Regions from separate parts of the Homo sapiens genome. Here all the other regions are linked to region 1. Evidence: promoter capture Hi-C in human tissues and cell types (Jung and others, 2019). All regions are on one chromosome and are shown on one strand. The core of a region is centred on a gene start or on the middle of the fragment in contact, and the rest is flanking DNA. Distances in the headings are between cores, read along the strand shown.

What was found. The method cuts DNA at HindIII sites, captures the fragments that hold promoters and counts their contacts. A contact is called where the count stands out against the background at its distance.
Region 2: a contact is called between a fragment that was not itself captured here and the fragment with the promoter of AUNIP in region 1, in 10 of the 25 tissues and cell types used here (H1 embryonic stem cells, IMR-90 fibroblasts, adrenal gland and 7 more).
Region 3: a fragment that was not itself captured here is called in contact with the fragment with the promoter of AUNIP in region 1 in 1 of the 25 tissues and cell types used here (small bowel).

Annotation. Positions count from the first base shown.
Region 1 is chr1:25,858,106-25,860,805 of GRCh38, reverse strand. AUNIP (aurora kinase A and ninein interacting protein) reads left to right here and starts at 1,349. Exons shown (of 3, transcript NM_024037.3): 1 at 1,349-1,526. The coding sequence starts at 1,449. RefSeq lists silencers at 532-591, 1,192-1,451 and enhancers at 443-1,068, 942-1,171, 1,069-1,694. The HindIII fragment of the contact is 14,334 bases long and covers 1-2,700 here.
Region 2 is chr1:25,990,807-25,993,506 of GRCh38, reverse strand. It overlaps PAFAH2 (platelet activating factor acetylhydrolase 2), which reads left to right. Exons shown (of 11, transcript NM_000437.4): 2 at 2,644-2,700. The coding sequence starts at 2,691. Among named protein-coding and RNA genes, the nearest start is that of PAFAH2, 5.9 kb to the left of the region's middle. The HindIII fragment of the contact is 7,134 bases long and covers 1-2,700 here.
Region 3 is chr1:26,073,050-26,075,749 of GRCh38, reverse strand. No RefSeq gene overlaps it. Among named protein-coding and RNA genes, the nearest start is that of TRIM63, 6.8 kb to the right of the region's middle. The HindIII fragment of the contact is 3,802 bases long and covers 1-2,700 here.

The DNA.
Region 1 (2,700 bases), core at 100-2,599:
TATCACCTGAGGGCAGGAAGTTGAGACCAGTCTGGCCAACATGGCGAAAACCCATCTCTACTAAAAATACAAAAATTAGCCAGGCGTGGTGGCACACACCTGTAGTCCCAGCTACTTGGGAGGCTGAGGTGGCAGGATCGCTTGAGCCCAAGAGGTTGAGGCTGCAGTGAGCTGAGACTGTGCCACTGTACCCGAGCCTGGGTGACAAAGCGAGATGGCTCTGTCCACCATGAAGACAGGCTCTGGCTGCAGAGATGGTTGAGGTTCCTGGCTGACCTGCTGCAGACTGGGCAAGAGGTGGCTGAGCTTCTATCCTCCCTCCACCAAAAAAAAAAAATTACAAAATTTTTGGCCGGGCGCGGTGGCTCATGCCTGTAATCCCAGCACTTTGGGAGGCTGAGGCAGGCGTATCACGAGGTCAGGAGTTCGAGACCAGCCTGGCCAATGGTGAAACCCCGTCTCTACTAAAAATACAAAAATTAGCTGGGTGTGGTGGCGTGCGCCTGTACTTCCAGCTACTAGGGAGGCTGAGACAGAAGAACCGCTTGAACCCAGGAGGCGGGGCTGCAGTGAGCCGAGATAGCGCCACTGCACTCCAGCCTGGGCGACAGTGAGACTCCGTCTCAAAAAAAAATTTTTTTTACATATACAATATGTAAACATTACGTATAATGTACATATATTCCATCTATGGAGATTGTGGTTAGGGACGGAAGGATGGGTGGGGGTGCCAACATTTTTGCATTTCCAAGGGGTTTTCTGAATTCACAAAGTACTTTCACAACCTCATTTGATCCTCTTTAAAATCCAAGGCACAGTAAACGGTGAAAGCAGGACTGAAATCTAGTTCCTGACCCCAAATTTTAACCTCTTCAAAATCCTCTCCCATGTGGCTTCGTAGTTACGCTTACATTAAAAAAAAAAAATTACCAAAGTTGTTCGCACACTCGAGTGTCTGGTAACCACTTAGGTCGAGGACCCCTGGTCTGGAGTCGACGGGCCTGATCTCGGCTCAGCCACTTCCTTCTGGGGGTGATCGCGAAGATTCAGCGATGACACGAACAAATTCCTAAGCCCGGGAAATACTGTAAGAAATTTTCAATACAGCAAAAAGAAAATGTACATTTCTGAGGCTGTCGAGAACCGTTCACACAGCAGCTTCCGAATCCGCTCTTGAAAGAGCGGATCAGAAAGAACACGCACTCCTCCGCGCAGGGAAATATGCCGCACGCACTCAAGGGACCGGCCGCGAAAGTTAGTGCGTGGGCGGGGCACAGCGAAGGGGGCCAGGGCCTTGCCGGGGCGGGGCTGGCGCCCGGGGCGGTCGCGACGTAGCCCCGCCCCCAGCGTTGGCGCGAGATCCGAACGTCGGCGGCCGCGGTTCTGGCGTTCCCTGAGGCGCCGGGAGCCTGCGCCGGCGTCCTGCCGGCTTCGTCTCCTCAGCGGCCATGAGGCGGACAGGCCCCGAGGAGGAGGCCTGCGGCGTGTGGCTGGACGCGGCGGCGCTGAAGAGGCGGAAAGTGCAGGTGGGACGCTGGGGGATGAGAGGGCGTTGGGAACCAGGTAGGGCCTGGAGGCGTAAGACGGGAGGAGTTTGGGGGACACCTGGAGATGATGAAAGCGAAGTCGGGGACAGAGAAGGGAACAGCGTTGGGGATTCACAGGCGAGAGGGATTGTGGTCTGAAGAAGGTTGAAAAACGGGGCTTGGGGAGGATGGGAGGGACGGAAGGAAAGAGCGTGCTGTTGGGGGGTCTGGAGGAGCGGTGCGCAGGGAGGGGCGGCGAAGGTTCAGGTGTGGGAGAGGCGGAGGGAAAGTTCGCTCGGAGCAGTTGAACTGACCAGGCTCCCTAGGAGGCCACAGTCCCTGCGAGACGTCCTAGTAGAGGCTGGAGCATTGGGAGATGGATGCGAATGCAAATTGGGGAAATTCTCACCCCGGGGTCTGTTTCCACCCAATTTGCCAAGTTGCAGGCCAACTACCTGCCCAGAACCGGTAACTTTGAGGGGAAAAGTAGAAGCTATGGGAAGGGGAGCTGGCCTCCTATGTACTGAGCAGTCACTGGGTGCCGGATACTGCATTAGATACTGAATATGCGTTATATGTGTCGTCATTCTTGCTGGGAATGAGGAAACTGAGGTTCAGTAACTAACCTAGGCCCGCCTAACTAGAAGGAGCTGGAAATCACATTCAGGTCTGTCACCTAGGCAAGATGCTCTTCAGTCACTGTAAAGAAACAAAAGTGCGACATAATAATCATTCATGTTTATTGAGCATTTTATGCTGGTGCTAAGTGTTTTAGGTATGTTACCTTGTTTGGTACAATTCTATATGGTAGATAGTGTAATGATACCCATTTTACATACGGAAAACAGGCTCAAAACAGACACTAGGGGCAAGATTCTTGCTCTCAGGTTGCTCACAGTCTTATAGGGAAGAAAAGAGGTGTATAAATAATAACAACAATACCTAACCTTTATTGAGTGCTTTCTATGTGTCAGGCATTTTGCCGAGACTTTATACACTTTATCAATGGCAGGTACTCACCAAAATTCAGTAAAGTAGATTTTGTCATTATCCTGGTTTTATAGATAAGAAATTTGATCATTTTATTATTATTATTTATTATTATTATTTTTTGAGATGGAGTCTTGCTCTGTCGCCCAGGCTGGAGTGCAGTGACACAATCTCAGTTCCCTGC
Region 2 (2,700 bases), core at 77-2,576, 130 kb before region 1:
GGCAGCTGACAACCAGGAGACTGTGTGTTGTTATCATCGTTCTGCTTGTGACTCTGAGCAGCTCACTTAATCTCTCCGGACCTTGGTGTCTTCCCTGGTAAAGCACGTGTATGTACGCGGAGAAGGGGAAAACGATTGTGGAGGGGATTGACGGAAATGCTCCCTTAGGTCTCTTCTTACCCAGACATGCTTTGACTGGAACTCCTGAATCCCTCCCAGAGCATCTTAAAGGAAGCAGAATAATTTAATCATTAACATGTGGACCCCAGACTCAGTGTGTATCCATTTAGATGCTTTTGGTTACAACCAAAAGAAATCTAACTTCAGTTGGTTTAACCAAGAAAGGGAACTTACTGACTCATGTAACTAGAAAGTCTAGGAGTGGGTCAGGTTTCAGGTATGGTCTAATCTGTGGATTCTTAATGTCTTCACAAATGGGCCTCTATTTCTCTGTGATTCTTCTGGTTTTCCCATCCACCATGGGTATCTTCATCCTCAAGGTGGCAAAAGTGGCTGCTGTGGTTCAAGGCCACTTGACAGGTGACATCTGCACATCACACTAGTCCAACACAGGAAATAACTTTTCTCCCCTCAACCGTCATACCAAAGTCCCGGGTTTTACGCCTATTGGACCAACCTAATGCCATACGCGCACTTTTCATCCAAATACTGACCGGAGAATAAGAAGGACTGATTGGCTCCGGTTAATTAAGGCTCAACTCCGGAGGTTAAGGAGGGGTCAGCCCCACCCAAATCACAAGGCAAGGGACACTGGGAAGTTTGACATTCTCATGTTACAACCACATTGTCCATGATCGAATTCTGGCTCTGCTCGCCATATGTTATTGGGTAAATTGCCTTTGTCAAGCATCTGTTTCCTCATCTGTAAAATGAGATAATAATACGTATCTCAGAGGACTGTTGAAAGAATTAAATAAAATAATATGTGAAAAGCACTAAACATAGTTCCTGGCACAGAGTAAGTATGATGATGATGGTGGTGTTGGAGATGATGAAACTGAAGAGGGTTAGGGGAGCACTGGCACCAGTTTAGGAAGCAGCTGAGCCGTAGGAATGTTATCTAGTCAGGAGTGTGCATGCCTGTCATGCTGAAAGCATCTGTTTGATCTACTGCCCACATCATACTTTTCCCTACCTCTGCTTTTTTTCCTCTTAGGATTTTTTCTATAAGTGCTTTCTTCCTCCTCCCCTGCCTCTCAACTTCCTCATCTTTAAAGGCCCAGCATAAGTGCTACCCCATATTCAGTAGTTTAAAAGCTGGGTGTGGTGGCTCTTACCTGTAATCCCAGCTACTTGGGAGGCCTAGGCAGGTGTATTGTTTGAGCCCAGGAGTTTGAGACCAGCCTGGACAACATAGCAAGACCCTGTCTCTCAAAAAAATCAAACGGTTTTAAGAAAAAGCTTAGTTCAGTAACTTTGCATCTGTATAACTGAATCTCCCCCTGAGCAGGATCAGTAATGGTTAAGAACTTAGCTTCCGGATTAGGCAGAGATGGGTTTGCCACTGGGTAACTTGGGAAGGTTATTCAACCTCTTTATGCCTTAGTTTCCTCATCTGTAAAACAGGGTCTTTTGTTTGTTTGTTTGTTTTTTGAGACAGGGTCTCACTCTGTCACCCAGGCTGGAGTGCAGTGGTGCAATCTCGGCTCACTGCAACCTCTGCCTCCCAGGTTCAAGCGATTCTCTTGCCTCAGCTTCCTGAGTAGCTGGGACTATAGGTGCCTGCCACTGCACCCGGCTAATTTTTGTATTTTTAGTAGAGACGGGGTTTCGCCATGTTGGCCAGGCTGGTCTTGAACTCCTGACCTCAGGTGATCTGCCCGCCTCGACCTCCCAAAGTGCTTGGATTACAGGCGTGAGCCACCGTGCCTGGCCAAAACAAGGTCTTAATAGTACCTACCTCAGGCCAGGCGCGGTGGCTCACGCCTGTAATCCCAGCACTTTGGGAGGCCAAAGTGGGTAGATCACGAGGTCAGGAGATCAAGACCATCCTGGCCAACATGGCGAAACCCCGTCTCTACTAAAAATTAAACAAAAAATTAGCTGGGCATGGTGGCACGTGCCTGTAATCCCAGCTACTCAGGAGGCTGAGGCAGGAGAATCGCTTGAACCAGGGAGTCGGAGGTTGCAGCGAGCAAGATCATGCCACTGCACTCCAGCCTAGCAACAGAGCGAGACTCCGTCTCAAAAAAAAAAGTACCTACCTCAGAGAGTGGTTGAGACAATGAAATGATGCAATGTGTATAGTGTCTATAAAGAGGTCAGTACAGTGCTAACCGTAAATAATGGATCTTAGTGGTTACTATTAGCCTCAGGAGAGCAAGGTCTGTGTGACAGTCTCTGCAGCAGTAGCTGCTGGATAAACATACGTTAATGGGCTGTAAGGAGTATGGATGGCTCTCTTTCGTCTTCCAGCCATCTCCTCACCCTAGCAAAATAAAAAACAACCCCCAACCTTGGCAAAGGCAATGTAGCAAAGTAGTAGGTGCAAGATTTAATGAGCGACGGCAGGGAGGATGAGGTGCTAAGGAGGGGTGGACAGGGTAACAGATAACACATTTCAGCAACAGGAAGCCGAGAGGAAACCAGCAAGCGGCTGCTGTTCTGTGTTCCCCCATCCAGCCAGCAAGTTCAGCTCCGGCAAGTCATTTGATTCACCCGGTGATGAAATGGGGGTCA
Region 3 (2,700 bases), core at 71-2,570, 210 kb before region 1:
ACACTCCTAGGGAGGAAATGAGGGAGAACAGGTACACACATGTGAAAAAGATCTGCTCCATGATGTACCAGGGAAGCACTTCCACAAGCCTGAACTATGTGGACATGAAAGGGGAGATGGACAGTTGTTTCCTCTCCAGCATCACCACCCCTTGGGCCTGTGTCATCACCGGAGCACTCCTCTGAGAACTTGGCCACTGGGGATGTGGAAGGACCATTCAGGATCATCTCCTGTAGATGCTCCATTTGGCAGATGAAGAAACTGAGGGTGGGTATGGTTTGCAGGGCATCACATTTCAGGTCTCCAACAGAGATGGAGATGGAACCCAGGTGTCTGGGCCCTAGGCCAGGGTTTTCTCCTCTGAACCAAGAGGCATCAAAAAAATCTCAGATCTCTGAAAAGTTCCCTTTCTAGAGACAATTAAAAAAAAAACAAAAACATAGGCTGGTAACGATGGCTCATGCCTGTAATCCCAGCACTTTGGGAGGCTGGGGCAGGCAGATCACCTGAGGTCAGGATTTAGAGACTGGCCAACATGGTGAAAACCCATCTCTACTAAAAATACAACAAATTAGCCAGGCGTGGTGGTGGGCACCTGTAATCTCATCTACTCGGGAGGCTGAGGCATGAGAATCGCTTGAACCCAGGAGGTGGAGGGTGCAGTGAGCTGAGATAGCGCCACTGCACTCCAGCCTGAGTGACAGACAGCAAGACTCTGTCTAAAAAAAGAAAAAGAAAAAGCATAGACTTTGAGGGTTAAACAGGCCTGTTGCAGCTTTGCCTACATGAGCTGTGGGTCTTGGGGCAACTCCATACCCTAAACTGTGCCTCATCTGTGAAATGAGGACAATAAGTATGACATGTATACTTGAAAATTGCTAAGAGAGTAGATTTTAAGTGTTCCCACCATGAAACAATAAGTATGTGAGGTCATGCATATGTTAAATAGCTTGATTTAGCCATTCCACAATATATACATATATCAAAACATCATGTGGTACACCATAAATATATGCAATTTTTACTTGTCGATTAAAAAAATTTAAGGATAACCTATTTATAGTTGTTGTGAGGACTGAATAAAATAGTGCCTCAAAACTCTTTGTAGATGCCCAGCCACTTGCAAGCACTGAAATCAATAAAACACAGCATTATAATTGCTATTACCCTCTACCTCCCCTTTTTCCTTGCCAGGCCTAGACCATTCTCCCTGATGCCTTGCCTGTCTTCTACCCAGCTGGGACCCTCTTGGGCACTACAGCTTCCTACACTCATGACACAGACTTTGGGAGCAATTCTAAATGACAGGTCTGTTGCTTAGCTGGGTGACTTTCTACAAGTCACTTAAGCTTCAGTGCCTGATATATAAAAATGAGAATCATAATACCCAGAATAATTCTCTGATAAATCAATGGCACAGAAGAATGAGAGGGATGACAGTTGTTACAGTTTAAAAGAGATCCATGAGACAAAAACAACAGAGGTCTCAGCCTGAGTAACGGAGTGAGACCCTGTCTCAGAAAAAAAAAAACTTTAATTATTGTTTGTTAACATAATGGCATGGTGATTATGTAACAAAAATCCTTATCTATGAGAAATGCATATTGGAGTATTTATGGGTGAAATGACTTAATGTCTAACATTTTCTTTAAAATATTTTAGAAAAGGCTGGGCACGGAGGCTGAGGCAGAGAATTGCTTGAACCCAGGAGGTGGAGGTTGCAGTGAGCCAAGATTGCACCACTTCAGCCAGCCTGGACAACAGAGTGAGACTCCTTCTGAGAAAAGAAAAGAAAAGAAAAAATAAGAAAAGAAAAGAGGCTGGGTGCAGTGGTTCACGCCTGTAATCCCAGCACTTTGGGAAACCAAAGTGGGAGGATCACCTGAGGTCAAGAGTTTGAGACCAGCCTGGCCAACATAGTGAAACCTTGTCTCTACTAAAAGTAAAAACAAAATTAGCTGGGCGTGATGGCGAGTGCCTGTAATCCCAGTTACTCGGGAGGCTGAGGCAGAAGAATCGCTTGAACCTGGGAGGTGGAGGTTGCAGTGAGCCAAGATCACGCCACTGCACTCCAGGCTGGACAATAGAGTGAGACTTTGTTTCAAAAAAAAAAATTTAGACAAAAGAAGCGTGGGCCAGGCACGGTAGCTCACGTCTGTAATCCCAGTAGCTTGGGAGGCTGAGGTGGGCTGATCACTTGAGGTCAGGAGTTCGAGACCAGCCTGGCCAACATGGTGAAACCCCGTCTCTACTAAAAATACAAAAATTAGCCGGGTATTGTGGCATGCGCCTGTAATCCCAGCTACTCGGGAGGCTGAGGCAGGAGAATTGCTTGAACCCGGGAGGCAGAGGTTGCAGTGAGCCAAGATCGCACCAATGCACCCCAGCTTGCGCAACAAGAGCGAAACTCCGTCTCAAAAAAAAAAGAAAGAAAAGATAAAAGAAGTGTATGGGAATATTGGGGCAATGATTAACGAGTTAAGCTGGGTTTGATTACGTGAGCCCATTATACTGTTCTCTCTAGTTTTGTGTGTTTGAAACTTTCATTCATAAGGAATAAAAATAAATGAAGTGACTTGCAGAGAGGGAGGCAGTAAATATAGTGGTTAAGAGCTCTGGGTCCAGACACCCACTGGTGTTCCGTAATTGTCTCTTCATCTGCCAGTACTATAGTGTTACGGTATGTTCTCATAACTGTAA